Linked DNA regions of Homo sapiens: all the other regions are linked to region 1. Evidence: promoter capture Hi-C in 16 types of primary human blood cells and fetal thymus (Javierre and others, 2016). All regions are on one chromosome and are shown on one strand. The core of a region is centred on a gene start or on the middle of the fragment in contact, and the rest is flanking DNA. Distances in the headings are between cores, read along the strand shown. Region 1 holds the start of SQLE (squalene epoxidase). Region 2 overlaps MTSS1 (MTSS I-BAR domain containing 1). Region 3 overlaps MTSS1 (MTSS I-BAR domain containing 1). Region 4 overlaps MTSS1 (MTSS I-BAR domain containing 1). Region 5 overlaps MTSS1 (MTSS I-BAR domain containing 1). Region 6 overlaps MTSS1 (MTSS I-BAR domain containing 1). Region 7 holds the start of MTSS1 (MTSS I-BAR domain containing 1).

Evidence for each region. Contacts are between HindIII fragments. The CHiCAGO score rates a contact against its expected background, and 5 or more counts as called.
Region 2: a fragment that was not itself captured here is called in contact with the fragment with the promoter of SQLE in region 1 in 6 of 17 cell types (erythroblasts, naive B cells, total B cells and 3 more); the score reaches 8.7 in erythroblasts.
Region 3: a fragment that was not itself captured here is called in contact with the fragment with the promoter of SQLE in region 1 in 7 of 17 cell types (fetal thymus, erythroblasts, megakaryocytes and 4 more); the score reaches 9.3 in fetal thymus.
Region 4: a contact is called between a fragment that was not itself captured here and the fragment with the promoter of SQLE in region 1, in 8 of 17 cell types (megakaryocytes, erythroblasts, M2 macrophages and 5 more). The highest score is 12.1, in megakaryocytes.
Region 5: a contact is called between a fragment that was not itself captured here and the fragment with the promoter of SQLE in region 1, in 2 of 17 cell types (megakaryocytes and erythroblasts). The highest score is 8.4, in megakaryocytes.
Region 6: a contact is called between a fragment that was not itself captured here and the fragment with the promoter of SQLE in region 1, in 4 of 17 cell types (megakaryocytes, erythroblasts, naive B cells and 1 more). The highest score is 13.0, in megakaryocytes.
Region 7: the fragment with the promoter of MTSS1 here is called in contact with the fragment with the promoter of SQLE in region 1 in 6 of 17 cell types (erythroblasts, megakaryocytes, naive B cells and 3 more); the score reaches 12.7 in erythroblasts.

The regions. Positions count from the first base shown.
Region 1 is chr8:124,996,562-124,999,754 of GRCh38, forward strand. SQLE (squalene epoxidase) reads left to right here and starts at 1,944. Exons shown (of 11, transcript NM_003129.4): 1 at 1,944-3,133. The coding sequence starts at 2,843. It overlaps SQLE-DT (SQLE divergent transcript), which reads right to left and starts at 1,637. Exons shown (of 2, transcript NR_134457.1): 1 at 1,402-1,637; 2 at 427-599. RefSeq lists enhancers at 1,265-1,324, 2,255-2,304 and a silencer at 1,545-2,044. The HindIII fragment of the contact is 7,996 bases long and covers 1-3,193 here.
Region 2 is chr8:124,621,681-124,624,873 of GRCh38, forward strand. The region is part of intron 3 of MTSS1 (MTSS I-BAR domain containing 1); the gene reads right to left. Among named protein-coding and RNA genes, the nearest start is that of NDUFB9, 84 kb to the left of the region's middle. RefSeq lists an enhancer at 1-27. The HindIII fragment of the contact is 7,610 bases long and covers 1-3,193 here.
Region 3 is chr8:124,642,487-124,645,679 of GRCh38, forward strand. The region is part of intron 3 of MTSS1 (MTSS I-BAR domain containing 1); the gene reads right to left. Among named protein-coding and RNA genes, the nearest start is that of MTSS1, 84 kb to the right of the region's middle. The HindIII fragment of the contact is 3,316 bases long and covers 1-3,100 here.
Region 4 is chr8:124,659,838-124,663,030 of GRCh38, forward strand. The region is part of intron 3 of MTSS1 (MTSS I-BAR domain containing 1); the gene reads right to left. Among named protein-coding and RNA genes, the nearest start is that of MTSS1, 67 kb to the right of the region's middle. The HindIII fragment of the contact is 1,769 bases long and covers 859-2,627 here.
Region 5 is chr8:124,680,138-124,683,330 of GRCh38, forward strand. All of the region lies in intron 3 of MTSS1 (MTSS I-BAR domain containing 1), which reads right to left. Among named protein-coding and RNA genes, the nearest start is that of MTSS1, 47 kb to the right of the region's middle. The HindIII fragment of the contact is 4,754 bases long and covers 1-3,193 here.
Region 6 is chr8:124,702,953-124,706,145 of GRCh38, forward strand. MTSS1 (MTSS I-BAR domain containing 1) reads right to left here. Exons shown (of 14, transcript NM_014751.6): 2 at 1,178-1,239. Among named protein-coding and RNA genes, the nearest start is that of MTSS1, 24 kb to the right of the region's middle. The HindIII fragment of the contact is 4,968 bases long and covers 1-3,193 here.
Region 7 is chr8:124,726,818-124,730,010 of GRCh38, forward strand. MTSS1 (MTSS I-BAR domain containing 1) reads right to left here and starts at 1,656. Exons shown (of 14, transcript NM_014751.6): 1 at 1,067-1,656. The coding sequence starts at 1,138. It overlaps LOC105375741 (a long non-coding RNA gene), which reads left to right and starts at 1,722. Exons shown (of 3, transcript XR_002956670.2): 1 at 1,722-3,193. The HindIII fragment of the contact is 14,334 bases long and covers 1-3,193 here.

The DNA.
Region 1 (3,193 bases), core at 694-3,193:
AAAAATTTAAAAATAATAAAAGAGTCAGCTGCTCCTCTATTATTTTAACAAAACAGAACTCACAGATACCAATAAGCAGTTTATTGAAGAATTCTCTTCAGGAAATGATTTCCCATACATTGAACTGATTCTCTTTTCTGCAGTCCTTTTAAATTTGATGTCAGTTCAGACAGCCAAACTTACTGGTAACAGTGAGGAATATTGTAGAAGAAAGAATAAAAGTATTGGAAAGCAAGGCAGTTATTGATAATTATGCATACTGGGGAACCACAAGATTTGGAGACCAGGACTTTGACTTTTGGTTTCATCATTACGATTTAATCACAGCTGTGATTTAGTCAAGCCATTTAACCTCTTTAATTTTCATTTTCCTCATTTTAAAAATCAAAGTTGTTTTGAGGGTCAAGTGAACGCCTGTGCGGGTGTTTTACCAAATAATTATTTTATTAGCAGATAAAACATAATATTGGGGGTGAAAAGTTATAAGAGGTGCCATGTTTTTTTAAACCCTGCCAAGTATCTGATACAGAATTGCAAAGGATGTTCGAGTTCATGAAGAAGTTGCCTTCTCCCCACAGAGGCAGAGTGACTTGTAACATCTGTAAAAGGTCACAGTCTGGTTAGCGGTAGCCAGAATCTGGGTCTCCTAACTCTAGTTGCCTAGTCTTGCTTTTATGCGCCAGTGTCGTTCATCATTCATTAAATACATGTTATGGAGGATAAATTAAGGGCAGAGCATTGTGCTAGGTGCTGTGGGTGATCTTATCAGACACAGATCTTTAGGGAATCTAGAGATTAAAAAGTATGAATAAAGTTATGTGACTTGGTGAAGGTCAATGGCGATTTGGTGGAAGAGGTGACAATGCAGCCACGCTCCAAAAGGCAGAAGGGATTTGCACCTATTATCATAGGGGTTAAAGAAGGAAGTCCAGAGTTAAGAAACAGGATGAGCAAAGACACTGAGGTCTTAAGCCTCAATAAATTTTAGGTAAGTTTCATCGTAGTAGAATAAGGGCTGTCTCACTCCGAGACTTTTGCACACTTTTGCTCCCTCGGACTGCTTGTCCTGGACACCGTGTAACCTCCCCCTGGGCGCCTCACCAGACTTCTCCAGGCCAAGGGAAGGACCACCTCTTGGGTTTCCATGGCTCCCTCTCTAACCACCCCCTTCTCAGGACACCTATGACACGACTATTTGACTTCTTTGCCTCCGAGCCCCCACCCCCAACGTTTCTGGTCTTGAGAGAACGGGCTGGGCGCATCCGTGTATCTCTAGCCTGAGCACCTGGAGCGTCCTCTCCTTTTCTTCTTAAGGCAAAAGCCTACTCATTCTTCCAGCTTCAGCTGGAATGTCAGGCTCTCCACGCACTCATGGCCCTCCCTTCCGCCCTCTCCACATACACAGGGCAGGGAAGCTGTGTCTGATTCCTCTTTCGGACTCCGGGGACTGACATATCATAAGCGCTCAATAAATGCTAGCGGAATGAATGGAAACGTTCCGACCCGAGGCAGCGGATCACTCCAGGCTTCTCCTCAAAGCGAGCACACCTCAGTCCAGGGAGGGCGCAGGAGCTGGGGCTGCTGCGGTGAACCAACCCCAACCCCGACCCCGACGCCGATCCCGGCCCCAGAGCGCCTCCTAGGCGACCCCTGGCCCCACCCACGCCGGAGCCGGCCCGCGCCCATCCCCACGCCCCAACCCGCACCACGCAACATCGCCCTAGCGCCTTTCGGGGCGTCGCCGCGCAGGTTGCGCCGCCTCCGATTGGCCAAACGCGGCATAGCGCCATCTCGGCCTACCGCGCGGTGCGCGCCCTCATTGGCCGGCGGCGGCAGGAGCAGGGGTAGGGGGCGGGGCAGCACGCGGGGCGCGCGGTATGGGCGGACTCGCGCCTGAGCCCCGCCCCCGGTCCCTCGTCTGGGCCGAGCCCGCCCAGCTGGCTGAGACGCGTGGAGCCTGGCGGCGAGTGGGGGCGTGCGACGGTTACTCTGGTTACTGGGGCCGCGCCGCGCTGGCGAGAGCCGCCGCCCGCGAGGGATGCTGGTGAGGAAGCCGTCGGGAGCCGCCGCCGCCATCTGAGGGAGGTACCCTGGAAACCACCTTTTATCGGTGGGGAAGTGCAGTCGCGGTGGGCGGCTCTGGGGGCCAGCGAAACGGGAGGCCTCTAAATCTTTAGGTTGGGGCTGCATTGCCCTGGAGCCGCACTCTTGAGTCCGAGGCCATCTTTTGTTGGAGAAGGCGTCGGCGTTGGCGTTTTCCCGAGGTTGGGCTGTACAGTGTCTCCGTCCGCGGAAAAAGAAGCCTCTGAACCCGCGCCGGCCCGCAGCCCCCGTGCCTTCCGGCCGCTGCTCGCCGTCGCCAGAGGCTAGGCCACGTTTCCCCCAGTGCCGAGGTGTTTCTGTGACCCTCCCTCCACTCCCATTCCCTTCTGAAAGGGCACCTGCTCTTGGTGAGAAAAGAAATTATAGCACGAAGAGCCAGTATCAGAAGAGTATCCATCACCCGCAGCAACCGCTCAGGGAACACCATCAAAAAAGAAAAAAAGGGAATATCTGGATTTCCTGGGCGAGGAGGAGCGAGTCTGCTCGGGAGCTGTTCCAGCAGGCGATTTTTAAATACTGCTTTCTACGCCCTATACAACTTGGCTTCACATACTTTTACACTAACTTTATATGATTTTTAAAAACTGGTCTGATCGGACTTCTCGTCCTGGGACACTGTTTACTGGAGTCTGGCCGGCTCTCCGTGCTCCTCTTGGTACCTCATTTTGGGGAGAACCTTAAACCCACTCGAGCAGATAATCTCCGCCTTGACCGGTGCCACCAAAGAAGCCTTGGAACCATGTGGACTTTTCTGGGCATTGCCACTTTCACCTATTTTTATAAGAAGTTCGGGGACTTCATCACTTTGGCCAACAGGGAGGTCCTGTTGTGCGTGCTGGTGTTCCTCTCGCTGGGCCTGGTGCTCTCCTACCGCTGTCGCCACCGAAACGGGGGTCTCCTCGGGCGCCAGCAGAGCGGCTCCCAGTTCGCCCTCTTCTCGGATATTCTCTCAGGCCTGCCTTTCATTGGCTTCTTCTGGGCCAAATCCCCCCCTGAATCAGAAAATAAGGAGCAGCTCGAGGCCAGGAGGGTAGGTTGATTTCAAAGCGGGCAGATGAATGTCTTATTTAGGAGTAGGATTGGGTTCACT
Region 2 (3,193 bases), core at 356-2,855, 380 kb before region 1:
TGGGATTACAGGTGCACGCCACCACACCTAGCTAGTTTTTGTATTTTTAGTAGAGATGGGGTTTCACCACGTTGGCCAGGCTGGTCTTGAACTCCTGACCTCAAGTGATCTGCCCACCTCAGCCTCCCAAGGTGCTGGGATTACAGGCGTGATCCACCACGCCCAGCCCCTATCTCTTTCCCCAGAGAAATCCTTACTAACCCTTAGAGAGTCAGAAAGATTCAACCAGAAAGTGGGTTCTGGGCACTTGAACCATCCGTTTCAGGTTTGGGTTTGGTTTACTTTCTCTCAGTGATGCACCAGCACGAGGTGGCTTCACTCTCTCAGTTAAGAACCTCCCTGATGAATGAGTAAGGAAAGTGTGAGAGACAGAAAGAGAAAGAGAGAGAGAGAGAGAGAGAGAGAGAGAGAGAGAGAATATGAATATATTTTTCAGCCTTAAAAAAGACAGAGATCCTGCCTTCTGCCACAATTCGGATGAACCTGGAGGACGTTATGCTAAGTGAAAGAAACCAGACACAGAAAGACAAACACTGCATGACCTTGCTTGTATGTGATCTTACTTATAGGTGGAATATATTTTTTTAAGTAGAAGACATAGAAAATAAAACAGTGGTTACCAAGGAGCAGGGGTGGGGGAGGTGAAGGAGGAAACGGGAGATGTAGGTGAAAGGACGCAGAGAGGCAGATATGCAAGATGCATCGCCCAGAGACCTAATGTGCATGAGGACTCCTAGTCAACAACATTGAATTATACCGGGGATTTCTGCTAAGACAGTAGATTTTAGGAGCTCTTGCCATATTGAAAAAAAAAAAAAAAAAAAAGGTAAATGACTGGGTGCAGTGGCTCATTCCCATAATCCCAGCACTCTTGGAGGCCAAGGCAGGCGGATCACTTGAGGTCAGGAGTTCGAGACCAGCCTGGCCACCATGGTGAAACCCTGTCTCTACTAAAACCACAACAATTAGCTGGTCTTGGTGGCATACTCTTGTAATCCATTACTCGGGAGGCTGAGGCAGGAGAATCGCTTGAGCCCGGGTGGTGGAGGTTACAATGAGCTGAGATCACACCACCGCACTCTAGCCTGGGCGGCAGAGCAGGGAGTCCATCTCAAAAAAAAAAAAAAAAGTAATTATGAGAAATGATAGATATGTTAACTTGCTTGACTATAGTAACCATTTCACTAAGTGTATCAAAACTTCATGTTGTACACCTTAAATATACACACAAACACACAAAAGACAATCTTCCCTGACCCGGAAAGTAGGGAGATGGGGCCCAAGGCAAAGTCAGAGCACAGACGAGCCCATCCCTGTGTAACAGTAAGAACGATCCAGCCTGCTTGCCTTTCTCACACCTTCCAGGAGGGCAGGTCACTGCGATGAGAGGAAGCACTCAAGTGGTTCCTAATCCAAAGAACTGTCTTGACTGAAGGATTCCAATAAGAAGTCTCCCACAAGCCTTGACTGGCTGTTTCAGAGTATGGTTACCCTACTGAAAATTGTTTAACTTCAACCCTATTTCTTGTCTTCTGAACTCACACACGTTTATCCTTCTTACGAAGACTACACACAACTAAACTGCATGTATCTGTGCTCATATGTCTATAGTGAACCTGTCATATGTCCTCAGACATTTTTTCCAGTAAGGTATTGATCAACCACCTTTGTGAGCAGCAACAGGAAAGGCAAAAATTATTGGAAAATGTGGTTAGGCTCAATTTTGTGAATGCCACATTTTCTTTTACCAAACATAACCAAATCCAACACCTAAAAGAGTTAGATGCCCTGGCCCTTCCCCCAAACAACTCATCTGTCCAATAAACACTTGCTGGCTTCACAAATTGGCCCAAAAGAGAGAAATGCATAAAATTAACTGTCCAATTTAAGCATTTGGCCTAAAAAAACCAAAGAGCACCTGAAACACTGAAGGATCTTCTGTGTTTTTTTGTTTGTTTGTTTGTTTGTTTTGAGACAGGGTCTTGCTCTGTCACCCAGGCTGGAGTGAGTGTGCAGTGGCGTGATCTCAGCTTACTGCAACCTCTGCCTCCTGGGTTCAAGCGATTCTCCTGCCTCAGCCTCCTGGGTACCCGGGACTACAGGCCCACACCACCACACCCGACTAATTTTTGTATTTTTAGTAGAGACCGGGTTTCACTATGTTGGCCAGCCAGGCTGGTCTCAAACTCCTGACCTCCGGTGATCCGCCTACCTTGGCCTCCCAAAGCGCTAGGATTACAGGCGGAAGCCACCTTGCGGGGCCCGCGCTAAGCACCTTCTAAAACTCACTGCCATCTTGCCTTTCTCTGGGAAAGTAAGGAAACTGCCTCCTTTCTTGTCAGCTCATCGAAGCTATCAACCATTGCTTCGTGTGGGTGAACTGATATGTGCTGTTACACCAGCTTAAAACAAAGGAGAGAGGCTTACTTTCAACCCCCATTTCACTCACGCTCCTATTTGAAAAGGTTTGTCACTGTGCGAAGACTCATATAGGACAGAAGAAGAAGACAGCCCCCGTCCTCAATGAGTGGACCATAGTCTGGAGGAGAAAGCAGCAAGCCCACAATTTATTATTTTTGCACTATCAGAGAGCTCTAAGCCAAATGGCTCCGCGTTCAGACAGCAAGAGTGCACCCGCTTTCTGAGCAGGGAAGGGACGTTTTCAGAAGATCCTCAGCCCAGGTTGTAAAAAGAGAAACTGGGAGGCATGGACCAGACATTCAGAGAACTGGTGAGCAAAAGCAGCCTAGACTCAGGTTGACGACGTGACACAGAAAAAGAAAAGAAAGGGATGGGTACAGGGGAATCACAGGGGCAGTGTCTATTCAGCCTGGCAGCTCCAGAGTAATGACAGAGGCAGGGCTAAGGATCCCAGGGCAGTCTGACACTTGAAGCCCAGGTACCTCCACCTGGGAGTCCCACCAACAAATAATAGGGAAATCAGGAGAAGGCAGTTTGGTTTGGCTGAGTCTCAGGTGCCAGGGGGAAGGCCAAATATCCCTGCACCATGCCAGCCACGTTGATGGCGCTGAAATAAATGTCTGTTCAGATGAATGGAGACCAACCACCAGACGGCTGGAAATGCGAAACTGAAGCTGACTCAAAGAGGTGGATTTGCGCAGAGCGGGGAGGTGTGGGCACAGGAATGAATGAGGTCTGCACACAAAGCTGTTTGCTACCCTCCACATTAAAA
Region 3 (3,193 bases), core at 193-2,692, 350 kb before region 1:
ATCTCTAGGCATCTCCTTAGCTAGTAACATATTTATATTGATCCACCTAAGTTGGAAATATGAGTTGTTAAGACAGCCCCATGTTTCTTCTGGGTTTTTTCTTTTTTCTTTTTTCTTTTTTTTGGAGATGAGTTTCACTCTTGTTGCCCAGTCTGCATTGCAATGGCATGATCTCGGCTCACTGCAACCTCTGCCTCCCGGGTTCAAGTGATTCTCAGGGCTCAGACTCTCAAGTAGCTGAGATTACAGGTGCATGCCACCACGCCTGGCTAATTTTTGTGTTTTTAGTAGAGACAGGGTTTAGTCATATTGGTCAGTCTGGTCTCGAACTCCTGACCTCAGGTGACGTGCCTGCCTCAGCCTCCCAAAGTGCTGGGATTACAGGCATGAGCCACTGCGCCCGGCTCTTCTGGGTTCTTAAGCACGGTGTTAAACCTCAGTTTTCTCATCTGTGAAACAGGAGCAATGAAACCTACTTGAGCCAGCCATTGTGAGAACTAACAATAACAGACTTAGCACATACAATAAGTTCTCAATCCATGGTAGCTGCTATTCTTCTTTTTCTCTGCATAATTAAGGGGGAAAACTGAGTATCTTTGATCAATAAAATTTGGCAGAGAGAAAAAAATTGGTAACCCCTAGTGTTAATAAGACTTCCAAAGAAGCATTTGGCAATACAACAGAAGCCTACAAATGCTTACGGCCCTCACTCGGCAATCCCACATGAGGACTCCATCCTAGGGAAATAAGATATGCAAAAAGATGCACAGGAATGCCTTCTGCAGCATCATTTAGAATACTGGAACTCTACAAGCAAAAGATAACCAACAGTGGGGGAAATGGCCAAATAAACAGTTGTGTGTTCATAGGAGTTGTTCCTGCAGCCACGGAAAAATGATTACAATATGATCATTTAAAAACAAAAATCTAGCCCGGCGCAGTGGCTCATGCCTGTAATCCCAGCACTTTGGGAGGCCGAGGCAGGCAGATCACCTGAGGTCAGGAGTTCGAAACCAGCCTGACCAACATGGAGAAACCCCATCTCTACCAAAAATAAAAAAATTAGCCAGGCGTGGTGGCACATACCTGTAATCCCAGCTACTCGGGAGGCTGCAGCAGGAGAATCGCTTGAACTGGGGAGGCAGAGGCTGTGGTGAGCCAAGATCGCACCATTGCACTCCACCCTGGGCAACAAGAGCGAAATTCCGTCTCAAAAAAAAAAAAAAAAAAAAAAAACCACGAAAATCTGTACTCAAAACTTTGGGATTTCATGTTATAAATATATTTAAAATAGTATGTACCCATTGTGTCTATAAATATTAGGAGAAAAGTACAACAAAATACTACATTAGGTATTTCCAAATGGCAAAATTACAGGTAACTTTTATATGTTGTCAGAGAATTGTTTGTATTTTTGAAATTCTGTGCAAGTAATTTATTTAAAGTCAGGAAAAAGTTATTAAAAAGTTTGTGGGTGTGGGTATGTGTCTGTGATGGAGAGGGACAAAGCACACTAAAGAGAAGCCAACTGGAAGCACGCCATTAATTGCTGATGCTTGAGTACAGAAAGAAGAGAAAGAATAGGATTCCCTTTAGGCCCACGGTTTGAGTTACATTAAGCCTGTGGTCATTTCCTTTAAGACCTGGGAACATGGGCATTGCTCATTTTCATGTACTATTATTTGTGCCAAAAGAAAAAAAAGAAAGCCTCCCAAACCTCAAACCACATTGAAATGCATGAGCAGCACATAATTCTGTAGCATTTTGGTTTCCTTGGCAACCTTATCTCTGTCTTCTTTGATCTCAACCACAGATGAAAAAGTCTTGGTTCTCCAAAGTCCCTGAGATCAATTGCCAGCTAGACAGTAGCAGAACATGGTAGAATGCTCATTCTCTAAGAAAGAATTTCTAATTAATGAGTTTCTTCACACCAAGCTCATTCCACAATGGATTTTAGAGAACAGATTCTTGATGCATTTACCATTTGAGTTCTGAGCTGTCTGATTTTCATATTACCACAATTTAATTTTAGCATCACGTAAACATAATTAATCTTTTCACCAAGTGAATGAAACAAGGAAATTACATTTAAGCCTCCAATTTTGCTAAATAGTACTGGTGTCTAAATATTTACCTGCTCTCTCCACTTCAGGTCCCTTGAGCAGGACGTGGTGGGGTTTCCAGGCCTAAATCTAACCTGCAAATGTCAAACTGGAAAACACTGCTACAGAGGCTGTGAGCAAAGCCCTGAGGTCTGAATACTATTGGCAGAATGTTATGAAGAAATCAGGAGATAATTCCAAATGGACATGGAGAAACCTAAGTCATCCGATTATGATTCAGTATAAGAGGGCTTAAAACATTTTATGGAATTTGTGTCCACCCCTTAAGTCATTTTTCTAAGAAAATGTCTAGCTGGATAAACTGAATGAAATTAGGTATGTCATACACAGATTCATTGAGCCATAAACGTTTACTGGGGGCCTACTATATATGTGGCATTGATAGGTCTTGAGGCCCAAATGTAGAGAAGGACATTTCTGTTCAAACACCTGAACCAGAGACCCTCTCAAAATAGTGCATCAAAAATGCATTTTTCAGCCAGGTGCAGTGGCTCACACCTATAATCCCAGCACTTTGGGAGGCTGAGGTGAGAGGATCACTTGAGGCCAAGAGGTTGAGACTAGCCCGGAAAACATGGAGAGACCCTAGTCTCTACAAAAAACAAAAACAAAAACGAAAAAACGAAAAACAATTAGCCAGCATGGTGGCGTGCACCTGTAGTCCTAGTAGCTACTCGGGAGGCTGAGGCGGGAGGACTGTTTGAGCCCAAGAGGTTGCAGTGAGCTATGATTGCGCTACTCATTCCAGCCTGGGCAACAGAGCAAGACCTTGTCACCAATTTTTAAAAGAAAATACAATTTTCAATGTGTAGAAGAAAATATAAGGCTCCAATGAATGTTGGGTGGCTAGTCCCATCTTCACGATCCCTATCAATGGCAAAAATCTTAGGATAAACTCAAATTATTCTTCCCACGAGAATCCAAAGGACGCTGATTTGAGAACAGCTATGCGGATATGTTTCCGCTGGGGTATCACAAGCTTAAAGCACACCAGTTTACCAAGCTTTTCTCTTTTTTCTGTTCTTTGAACTACTGTCCCCAAATCTCATTTTCTCGGTTGACGCTCAGCA
Region 4 (3,193 bases), core at 493-2,992, 340 kb before region 1:
CAGTGAGGGCTATCCCAACCCAGAATTAGAGTCCAAATACAACAACTAAATAGAAATAAATACATGCACACAAAATGGTAAGGAATCATCTCTTCCTGACTCTCTCTCTTACTCCTAAAACCAGACCTTGTGATTCAGTTCCCATGGAACTTGAACTTGAATAAGAGCCATAGAGTATTAGAAGCAGTCTCTTTTCACATACTGAAAAGTACCACCCCCCAGAAACATGGCAGGTAGGATGGCCACTCTGAGTAGATCTCAAAGCCACACAGCTGTCCCGAGGATATGCTTGGACTTCAAGACAGTACACATGTGTACATTTCAGAAATGAACCTTCAAAAGCCCTTCTCTGGCTCTGAGCTCAATTGTAGGAGATGAAAAAGCATTCGGCAGCCCAGAGTTAGGAATCAGAAAAGCACAAACAACCGTTTGAGTGATCTGGAATAGGCTGTGCCACAGAAACAGGGGCCCTTCGAAAGAAGCAGCACTTTAACCAAAAGAAAGTAAACAAGGGAGGGTGGGGGCAAGGAACGAATGGCACTAGTTTATAATTAGAATGTATATTTTGGTATTTAGAAAGTTGCCCATGCGCATGCACACACACACACACACACACACACACACACACACACACACCCTCAAGCTGAAGGGTGGAGGCAAGATCAAGGGGATAAATCAACAAGGCTTCCCACACAACAGCACAGATCACTAACCCACGCCTCCAACAGAAGAGGAAGTTCCTTGTTTAGAGCATTAACCCTCCCTCCCACTTGCTGGGGCTGAGATGCCTCCCACTACACACCAAATATGAGGCTCTGGCTTAGTGGAGGAATCAGAGCAGCCACAATATTTCTACGAAGCTTGTTCTAAATGCACATGATATCAGTGTTCTAAAATTCTGAATGTGGTACAGCTTTCATGCTAGTGCAGTATGGAAATGCCCCTCAACTCTCCCATGCCTCTCTTCCTCCTGGGTGCCCTGTGATACTCTGGTTCTCCTCTATACTAAGCAGCCTGGTCCAGTGTCTTCCCACAAGAGCAAAGGATGAGGGACTTGTGCCCCAAGGTCCGAGTGGAACACACATACACACCCTCCCACGCACACGTACACACACGCACAATTTGGTTCACACTGTATCCTCTGACAGTAGTCACCTCTTGGCCCTGAGGCCATCGTCAATCAACAGAGAAAATGGAACATTCAGTGAAAAGTAAAACCAGACCCAGCCACCAATAAGATGCCAGAGGGCAGTGGGATGAGTGTGATCATTAAAAAGTTTATCATTCAGAACCTTCATCCTTGGAGGAAAGGGTTTCAGTAACAACAGCTCACCAACACATGTAGGTTTTAAGAAATAATATTTATCGTCTTTTTCCAAAATGAAAGGATAACCTGAAAAGTAAAAACCTTAGGAAAATGGTCCCCATACACGCACTACCCAGAAACAACACCAATGTTAGACGTGTCCCTTTATTTTCTTCTAGGTTTTTTTTTTTTCTGTAAACTGATGAATTTTTACTAACAATTCATGCCTGCACAACCTGATTATTACAGGATCTAGACAAAGAGCAAGTTCATGAACCATGTTTTTCTGATGAAAACATGATCAAAGCACTAGCTCTTAGAAACAGAAGCTACGATTGTCTCAGGTGAACACAAAAGGAGCCCCGCAGCTGGGAAGATACGTGTGACCATCAGCTTGAAAACTGGACAGGCCACAGGGTCAGGTAGTGGAGTCCTAGCCACGCCAAAGGTGCAGACACTGCTGGGAGAGGCACGAAGCAGAGCCTCCTCAGCCCAGGTGAGGGGTGGTAAGGCTTCCTTCCTGGTCAGCCACCCGCTACAAACACCACCCCTCAAAGGCCGGGGCTAGGGAGGAACCTGGGAAGTCCAATCAGCACTGTCCCATAAAGGATTCCCCTCTTTCCCACAACTCACCATAGCTGCGACAGCCTGTTCACAGTTTGCTCAGCATACATTCAGGACCTGTCACACTGTACGGCCCACATCTGTCTGCATTTCTGACTCCCCTTAGACTATGATATTTGTAAAGTATGAGGGCCATGCTCCATTCATCTTCACGTCCTTTGTGTCTAGCAGATAGGAGAGGCTCAAGATGGCTCTCACCCATCCATGAACACCAAGGAAGTAGCCAGCTTCAGGTTCTTTTTAGATTAAAGAGAAAGGGAAATGATCCAGCCCAGTCTTGTCCCAAGCTCAGCTCTTTAGCCTGAAAGTTAATGGGAAAGGCAGGGGTGGCATGTTAGATCTATTGATCGCATGTGCTACAACGTTCCAGGGGCCCCTGCTTGGTGAGCTATGTTCAATTTTTGGGAAAGAGGACAACGTCAACGCTATAATTCCGGGTGCCTACCTCACACCACTCAGGAAGACCATAATCCAATGACAACTGAGAATGAATAGAAGCTGCCTATCTGGTTTCTTGGCATCCAACACAATTAGGGCCCCTCCGCCAGGGCTCTAGGAGCACCAAGAACAGTGATACGAATGTATTCCAGGGCCCGGCACATAGTAGATGTTCAATAAATACTTCTGAATAAAAAAAATACTGTATGCCATACACAGCACAGGACACCAAGAGAGGCCTCAGTCTCTGCCACCAGGAAGCTTTTCCATCTAACACAGTGGTTCTCTGTCTAGGGTGTCCATCACAATTACCTGGAGAGCCTTTCCCCAATACTCAGGATCCGGGCTCTGCCCCAGGCCTCCTGACGCACCCTCTGAAGACAGGGTCTAGACATACGTACTGTCAAACAGCTACCCAAGTGATTCTGAGGTAAACTCCCACATTGAAGAGCCCCTGCTCTAGAGAGTAAACGAAAGCTATTATTTATTATATTTGTAAATATTGGGGGAGGGGGTGGGAGAATAAGGCAGTAATGCTTTTTTATTTGTAAGTACCAAGACTTCCCTCCCTGCCCTCCCACGGGTTAAATTTTAAAGTCCTCCAAAATTCTTGGGAGGAAACAGACCAGGTACAATTGTCGTGGTATCCAAGGGGACCGTGTAATGTACCCTTGCAGTCAGATAAAGCTCACGGAAATCAAGGGCAACTACCTAATGATCCAAGGGACCGAGACGTGACCACGAGCCTTTCCTGATTGTTTTCTCCAGGTAACCAAGGGGCAGCTGCTCTCCTTTAGCCAGGTGAGAACACTGGATATCAGTATC
Region 5 (3,193 bases), core at 391-2,890, 320 kb before region 1:
AAGCATGAAAGGCAGAATGGTTCTTCAAGATGAGATGTTTAAATGGCAACTTCTTTGTCACTGGATCAGACCACACATGTGGAACACAAGGGCTGTGTCCAAGCAGGACAACTCAATCGCAGGCTCAGGAATTAGATATTGAGAAAAAGTACTAGGCGAGATCAAGAGTCAAACAGCCTGGGTAGGGAAGGGCAGGAGTCATCCGAACGGGGTCCTCATCCCCTCCAGATGTCAAAGCTCCAGGGGCCACTGCCAGCCAGAGCTGCTGCCTCTGCTCTCAGCTAACAGTGGCTAAGAAGGAAGGCCTAGGCAGCTGAGTCCCAGGGGAGAGCACACTTGGAGGGGCATTACCCCAAGGAAAAGGTGGAAAGGATTATAGGAAAAAACAAAGGTTGTCTATGTGCCACAAGGAGGGGCTTCAGGTTCCCGTCTCTAACATAACATTTCTACAGCACTAATAGCATATCATGTACCTGCTATACCAATAGTATAGTATTAAATACTTCCATGATAGTTATGTCTTGCAAACAGCACCCAGGTGGTCTTGACTACCAATGGACTCTAAATAGAGAAACTTAACAACCTATTACATGTGTCAGAGAACATTCACTGTTGCCAAGTAGTGTTTCTATAGGTACGAATGAAGGACACTCCTCTTAGGCAAAACAGGTAAGGCTTTGAGGAGCTGTCACATCTACCCAGCTGCTTTGAGGTCATTGCTTCTCTGCATTTTATGTTACCCCAGTCTCTACTCCTAGGGGAGGATGGTTCGGCAAGGTCACCAAGACCCTCCTGGCCAGAGTGGGGATTTCTTTAGACCGCAGGAGAGGAGCTCCTTAACCACCTTTAAGCAAGTTAATAATCTGTTCAGGGCCACCTGAGGATTAAGTGGTATAGCCCAGAGTAGAGAGGGTCCCCCAGCATGAAAGAGACTCCAATGTCCTAGTGTCAGATGCAAAAAGGAAAATTACAGAGCTCAGCTTCCTCCTAAGTGAAAAGCTGAACTTTTAAAACCTTAGACAAATGTGTCTATGGAGTCAAAAACAACACAGAGAAGCTGTGACATTTAAAAAAAAAAAAAAAAAGCAAATGATGAACTCAAGTAACAAATCTTCCACTCAGCATCCCAGCGGCAGAGAGAAATGCCAACCTCAGGACTCCTACATGTGTTTTATGCTGAAGGAGCTATTTCAAGCAGCAAAGGTTCTGCTTCTATGCCATTCCCAGTTTCTGTTTTGTTTTGTTTTGAGGTATGTCTTTTTAAATATCCACGATAAAAATGTAACCATCCCAAATATATTTCAATGATAGAAATACATGACCACTGTTTAGTTTAAATCAACAGTATCTCTCTCAAAACTGCCTCCTGGCTGGGCGCAGTGGCTCATGCCTGTAATCCCAGCACTTTGGGAGGCCAAGGCGGGTGCATAACTTGAGGTCAGGAGTTCAAGACCAGCCTGGCCAACATGGTGAAACCCCATCTCTACCAAAAATACAAAAATTAGCCGGGTGTGGTGGCAGGTGCCTGTAATCTCAGCTACTCAGGAGGCTGAGGCAGGAGAATTGCTTGAACCTGGGAGGCAGAGGTTGCAGTGAGCCGAGATCATGCCATTGCACTCCAGCCTCAGTGACAAGAGCAAAAAAAATGCCGTCTCAACAAAATAAAACAAAACAAAACTGCTTTCTATAAAGATTACTATAATTGATAGGAAGCCCAGAGCATAGTGCCTGACACATTTGTATGTGCTAATAAATACTAGCTTTCCTGATTCATATAAGCTAACGATTGAAGGCTACTATGAACCAGGCACTGAAAGCTCTTTATACACCTTCTCAAAGACTCCACACACAGCCTACAAAGGTGCTGTTATCACATCCAATTTACAGATGAGAAAACAGGTACACAGAGGTTAAGGCAACTTCCCAAAAGTCACACTGCAAAAAAGAGTGCAGGCTGGGATTCAACTCAAATCAAAGGTTCTTAAACAGCAGCCATGCACTTTCTTAACTCTAACAACAGGGTAGCCCTCACGCCAGAATAATTTACCATCTTTTCCATTTTACGCTAAAGCCATTTTGGGGGTTGTCTTTAAGTGAAGTCAGAGCAGGGGTGGGGACACTAGTCATCAACTTGTGCCCACCCCCATCTTCGGCAGCCTCCCCCAGGCTGTGCTCGGCCCTATTTGCTAAATAGCAGGTCCCTGGAGGTTGCACAACCATCAGCAGCAAAGTAGCTGGAATCCAAAACTAACACGGCTATCCCTTCAACGCTTCCTCTTCACCTCGGGCAAATAATCCATCAGTGCACAAGGCCACAGGTGTGAGGGGCGGCACAGAGACAGGAGAGAGGCCCCATTCCAGGAGAGTAAGCCTTTGGATCTGAGCCTCACGGAACAGGCAGGCTCTAGCCTACAGCCTCCATTCCTGCAGGGTAAGAATACAGTAGACAGGAGGCTAAAGTGGCCGGTTTGGCTCTCGTGATGCAGAAGGAAGCCTGGAGTCAGCAAGGGGAGACCAGGCTGCTGAATGGGCCAGTGGCTAACTGCAAGGCCAGCTCAGGGCAGCTAACTGAAACAGCAGCTCCTACTTCAACGAAGGGGAACTGGGTGGGGAGGGAAATGACCCAGTGTAGACATTGTCCTTACAGCACACACAAAAAGCACATGCCTACATATGACAATGATGGAATATGGCATTTCAAGCCAAATTTATACTAAACATCAAAGAAAACCAGGGCTTTTCTGAAACCAAAACACATTTCTAACCACTTTCTTGAAGAAAACAAAAATGGCTGGGATCTGAACCAGGCATAACCATTTTGTCTTGCTTTTTGAAAGCTGACAAATGGTCATCCCAGCCCTTCCTTCCCCAGTCTATGACCTTTTCAGACCATCTTGGTTCCTCTCCTGATGTTTCCTAAAGTAGTGAAATGACAGTACATTCAACTATCTGGCCCCATTTTATTTCCATGTGATTTAAACCTGATGTTTAATGTGACAGCACTTCCATTTAAAGTAAGCAAAAAAAAAAGAAAAAAAGTTTCTTATACACAAATGTTTTAACGTTTAATGTGTAATGTTTAACATGTGGTTAAAAAGGAAGCAGCCCACAATTTTAAAAAAATGAAATTTAAAAAATGGAAGAAAAACAATGACCCCAAAATCCTCATTCAAGGAATTGTGAACAGAAACAA
Region 6 (3,193 bases), core at 385-2,884, 290 kb before region 1:
CAAGCACGAGACTAGGCAATCACAGCCCCTTAGAGCTCAGCACTGGATCTTGTTTAGGCAGCTTTACGGAGGCATAATTTACATACCATAAAATACACCCTTTTTCAGGGTATGAGTCAATGATTTTTAGTAAATTTGGAGTTGCACAATCATCACCGCAATCCAATTTTAGAACATTTCCACCACCCCAAAAGATCTGTCTTACCCACTTCTCACTCTCCTTTTTCACCCTATCCCCAAGCAACCAATGATCAACATCTCTCTAAAGATATGCTTTTGCTAGATAGTTCATGTAAATGGAATTATACAATAGTCAACACAAGGTTTTATTTTATTTTATTATTATTATTTTCTTTTGAGGTGGACTCTTGCTCTTGTCGCCCAGGCTAGAGTGCAATGGCACAATCTCGGCTCACTGCAACCTCTACCTCCTGTATTCAAGCGATTCTCCTGTCTCAGCCTCCCAAGTAGCTGGGATTACAGGCACTCGTCACCATGCCCAGCTAATTTTTGTATTTTTAGTAGAGATGGGATTTCGCCATGTTGGCCAGACTGGTCTTGAACTCCTGACCTTGTGATCTGCCTGCCTGGGCCTCCCAAAGTACTGGGATTACAGGTGTGAGCCACCACACCCAGCCAACAGGAGGTTTTAAACTCTATTTGTGGAGAGGCAGTAAGCAGAATGGAGGAGAACATGGACTCTGGAGCCAGAGAGCCTAAGTTCAAATCCTTGCTCTGCCATTTAGTAGTGATGTGACTATGGATAAGTTATTTAACTTCGCTGTGCCTCAGTTTCCTCATCAGTAAAATGGGGATAATAATGGTATGTACCTTGTGGGGTTATGAGATTTAAACAAGTTAACAAATGCCTGGCACATAGTGAGCAATACATAAATGTTACCCGTTGCTACCTTACATACAGTACCTACCTCATTTGACTCTCAAAATTCCTATGGAAGGAGGAAAGCAGACATGAATGAGTCCCATTTTACATATGGCAATCAGGGCCCAGGATATATGGCTATAGGTGATCATGCTCCAATCAGAACCCAGCACAGGCTTCCCTATCTGCAGCACTTCCTGAATCAACCCTAATCAATCTGCATTTTGGTCTGTCCCACTCCATCCTTGTCTGAGGATGTTGTCCTTTTCCTGTAGAACATGTGCTTCTACTTACCGAAGCTGGGACTGCAGCTTTCCTGCTTTGTTTATGAAATCTTCCCAAACTGGATAGCTCCCCTGCAACACATCAAAGACATCAGTAAGTCACACTGCGATAGACATCTGATTACTACATTAACAGAGCACCCAATTCCAATCATGCAGGGAACAATCTGTGTATGTTCTCTTCCTTTGCAGGTCTGCAATACGTTTCCCGGATTCTATATACATGTATTGGCTCAGGAATCAGTTTAGAATGTGCTCAGTTCCTATAATCTTGTAAATACTACAAACATCAACTGAACTAGTTTGGCAGAATCTGACACATACACTTTTGAGTTGGTAGATGGTGGGTCCAAATTTAAGGTGTACAGAACATTTAAAGCTCCACCCTGAACCACTTGTTCATGAAACATGGCCCTGGCTGTTCTCCCACTTGCCCCAAACAACACCAAGCAGGGAACCAGAGTGACTGGGGCTCTTCCCCAGGACAGGTGGTTACAGAAAGCATTAATTAGACTATCAGAATCTCAAGATTGAAAAATTACCTAATGCAGCAGCTCAGCTGATGGCTTAAGCCCAACACCTAGGGACAGTATAGCAACAGGTGGTTCCCCAACACACTTCGGCTAACAGGGAACTCATCACCTTCCCAGCCTATTATCAGCCACCCTGTCCTTGATGTTCATGTAGTTCTAGTTCTAACCTCTGGGAGCCCTCAGTTAAGATCAATAATCCTGCTTCCACATGGAAGTCTTTTCAAAATCCAGTTTCACATCCAACCCCACTTCTCCCCGGGACCCTGCTTCACACCCTGACTGCATCCCAGAGACACTCAGCGTGTCTCTCTACTCTTCCTCTAAGTGTGGTGCATAGACACAAACTCAAATCTGCAGGTGCAAGTCTGACAGGGCAAAGCAGGCAGGGACCGACGTCTCCCTTCCTACACATGTTAAATTTATATTAAGATCACACAGCCCACCAACCAAGAGGTGACTCAAAATCAACACAGAAAGGGGGAAACAATGGGCTGAGAAGTGGTATTTGGCATTGATCATTTAAGTACAGAACTAAGGGCCGGGCGCCATGGCTCACAGCTGTAATTCCAGCACTTTGGGAGGCCAAGGTGGGCAGACATCTTGAGGCCAGGAGATCGAGATCAGCCTGGCCAACGTGGTGAATCCCCATCTCTACTAAAAATACAAAAATTAGCCAGGCATGGTGGCGCATGCTTGTAGTCCCAGCTACTCAGGAGGCTGAGGCATGAGAATCACTTGAGCCTGGGAGATGGAGGTTACGGTGAGCTGAGATCGCACCACTGCACTCCAGACTGGGCAACAGAGCAACACTCCGTCTCAAAAAATAAAATAATATAAAATAAAATAAAACAAAACAAAACTAAGACTAAACACCTGGGGATTATTTTTGCAGAACAGAGCGTAAATGTTATGAACCCTGACAAGGTAAAAACAACATATGCTACCTCTTGATTTTCTTGTTCAGGAAAGGAGGAAAAAATTATAATGAGGTTAATCAACTCATCTTTCATGACAGAAGCCCAATTAAAACTGTCTAAAACTGCAACCCAGCTAAAACATTAACAGTTTTACCTTCCTAATGGTATTAAACATCATTTTTTCTTACCCTTAGAGCAGGTTCTCAGCCTCAACACTATGGACATTTGAGGCCAGATAATTCTTTGTCGTGGGGGGCTGTCCTGCACATTTAAGATGTTTAGCAGTATCGCTATCTTCCATTCACTAGATGCCAGCGTTCCCCCACCCCCTATTTGGGACAACCAAAAATGGGACATTGCCAGATGGCCCCTAGGGGACAAAAATCACGCCCAGTCAAGAACCACTGCCTTAAAGGCACATCTGAGAAATCAACTTAAAGAAAGTGGTGAAGAAACAATTACAGTATTACTTCAGTTTCATTTTCTTCTGTTAAATGAAAGTACAATTAAGTATATTTTTTCAAAAGATCATGCATAGCACTCATTATAACAAGGAGCACTCATTATAACAAGGAA
Region 7 (3,193 bases), core at 406-2,905, 270 kb before region 1:
CCTCCCCGGATCTGGATCTGTTGAGGCAAACTGGGGCTGGGCCAGAGCCAAAGAGAAGCTCCCTAAATACACATTAAAAAAATAATTTCCCCCACCGCTCCCAATTCCCACCTCCAGCCAGCTCGCGCGGCTGGTTTTATTTCCTCTGGATGAATAACACGGGGCCCTGGTCTATCTCTAGGCACCAGAAAATCCACATCCGAGGATCAGGTTATCCCCAGTCCCACCCTTTGCAGGAAAAAACCAGGGTGTTGTTCCCCGCCCCCACGCGCGCGCGCGCACACACACATGCACGCGCGCACACACACACCATCTTCACAACCCTTCCAAGAGAAAACCTAGAGTGTGTGTCCGTTTGGGTCTGGGAGGGCAGGATACAGTTATTTCGGGGGCCCCAATCTTGCCTTTAGGCTCAGCTGGGAGAAGGCGGGGCCCCTGCAAGGCTGCCCGGGAACTTCGGCCCCGCGCCCCGCGGGAGGGCTAAGAGAGGGCACGCACACCTTTACCAGCTTCGGAACGGCCCAATTAATAACTAATTTGCTCAGATACCCCACTCCAAGTAGACCTGACAGCCAAGGAGGGACTGGCTTTCCCTCTCAGTCTCCTAGGCTAGGGGACTCCTTCCTGCGAGCGGGCAGAGCCCCCACTTCCTCCCCACCACCGCGCCAGGCGCCCCCACCCCGTGCCCGGAGGAATCAGGTGTCCTCCCGGGCATCCAGCCCCCGCGGGTCCCAGACACTTACTTCAGGGACAGACAATGGGAAAACTTGCAGCCAGTGCCTTGAGCCCCCGAGGGAAAGAAATGGTGCCGCCCCCTGGGACAATGAGCGGGGGAGATGGCGTGGGACAGCAGACACCCCCCAGAGAAGCCACCCGCCCAGTGACCCCGCAGAGCCCGGAGCAGCGCCCCGGGTGAGCAGGTGACACTCCGGCCGGGAGCTCCCGCAGGTGGCCGGTGGCCACACTGCAGGGAAGGGCCGGGTGCCCGGCCCGGGGTGGAGGCGAAGCGCGGCGGCGAGGTCAGAGCGCGGCGGCCGGCGCCGCAGCCGCACCCCCGGCGTCCTACCTTCATGTCGCTGATGATGGTCTGGAAGAGGCCTCCGAGCGCGCTGCATTCCTTCTCAATCACAGCCTCCATTTTCCCGGCTCCGGCAGGGCGAGGGCACACACGCGGGGCCGCTGGACTGCGCGCGGGGCCGGGGCTCGCTCACCCCAGAAGGAATTTCACCTTCCGAGAGACCCACCTCGGACTCGCAGCCTCTTCTGCAGCGAGGACGGGGTGCACCAGACCGACTGTTCTCTGCCCAAAATAATAACAGTAATTTAAAAAGCCAAACCGCTCTGTAGGGTATTCGCCTACAAGCAGCGCTCGGCTCCTGGCCTTAAAAATGCCGGGAGAAGACTGACAATCAGGCCACCACTGGTGCCCACTACGGAAACGGCAAAGCCCATCTTGATGCAGAGAAAATCGCCCGCTGACCCGGGGCCAGCGCCATTGAAAAACGCAAGATTTTCCAATTTAATAAATTTTTCTGCAATTAAAAAAAAATCGCCCAACAGCAGAGCGGGTCAGCTCGCGGCGTCCGGATCTGTTGCTCGCAGCTGCGGCCGCCGCCTCCTTTTCACTCCTGCGCGCCCGGCCCCGGCGCTCGCTCTGGCTGGGCTCCCGGGGACGTTCGGAGGGGCGCACGCGCGCTCGCGGCCGTGCCCGCCAAGCGGAGGCGCGCTCTCGCGGCCGTGCGGCCGCCGCACGCGGGCGGGGCTGGGAGCGCGCGCCCGAGAGGCGCGTGGGGCACCCGCCGCAAAGAGGAGCCTGCTGGTCTGCTGGCGGGCAGGCGGCGCTGGGCCGGAGCCTCTCCCTCCGGTGCGCACAGCGCACCCTCTCCTCCCCCGGCCGCCCGTCGCAGCGCGGAGAGGGCGTGTCGGCACCCTGCCTGGCGAGCGCCCACCCCTACAATGGCTGCGAGCGCGCGGGACGGAGGGTGCACCGCCGCTCCCCGGGGACTTGCACGGGTGGCGCGCCTAGCCCAGAGCCCGCTTGTAGTGAGCGCTCAGTAGGGCGGGAAAGCTGCTGCCGCTACTGCGGCCTTCTGAGAAGACGCCCATTCTCTGATGTCAGGACTGCATCGCCGAGTCCTGATTGCAAATAGCGAAATATATAATTAAGGAGAGTTCGGGGGCGTATCCTGCAATGGGATGCCGAGTTCGATAAAGTTGCAGGATGCTGGGAAAGTGGATTGATTTGCTGTTGCTAAATGAATGGAAACAGCGTTAGAGCTTCTGTCCACGATCCATCAGTCTATCGAGATTGCTGATTGCCTATGACTTGGACGGTTGATGGTTTTCAGGCCCACTGAGAGCAGCCAGCGTTGGTATAACCGCAGGGAGCCCTCCTGGGAGGTTGAACCTGCAGAGCGCAAATGTGCCCAGGTTGATTTGGGGCCTAGTGGTCCATTTTCACAGCTCCACTGCCTATCTGCATAACCAGGAGCCCTCATTCAGATGAACGCCAAATGGGCCAGAGGGAGGAGAATCAAATGAGCAACTTTTAAAAGATATTAAGACATAGGCACCTAACTCCGGACAGTTCCTTTAACCCTTGAGCTAACCATTTGAAGCACAAAACATAACAAAAGAAAAGACTGGGGGGAGTGGGGCCAAAAGAAACCAAGTGCAAAATTCTGTACACTTGTGTCAGATTCACTCCGTAATGGGAAAAGGTCTGGCTTTGAAAACTTTATGGATCAAAGGGATGCATGGAGTTACACAGCACAGCTGCAGAAGATAATGTTCCCCTGGATCACTCTGCCCAACTCTTAACTGCAACCCACCTTCCCCATCCGTCTCCCCGAAATCACCCGGAAGGGTGTTACCTTCAGGAAGTAACTGATCTCTTGATCACCCCTGCTGGATCCTGTCCCCAAGGGCGTTCGAATGCATCCGACTCATCTTCACCTTGCCAATAACGGGTGCTTGACACATCGTTTGCTGCCAATCATTATTGTGATTTTAATACTATTGGTATTCTAACTATCAAGATGACTGCTTGTAGAGCCAGATTGCCTGGATTCAAACTCCAGTTCACAACCTACTAACTGTATGCCTTTAGGTATGTTACTTAACCTTTCTGGGCCTCAGTTTCCTCATCCATCTGTAAATGGGGATAATGATGGCTTCTACCTGATAGGGCTGT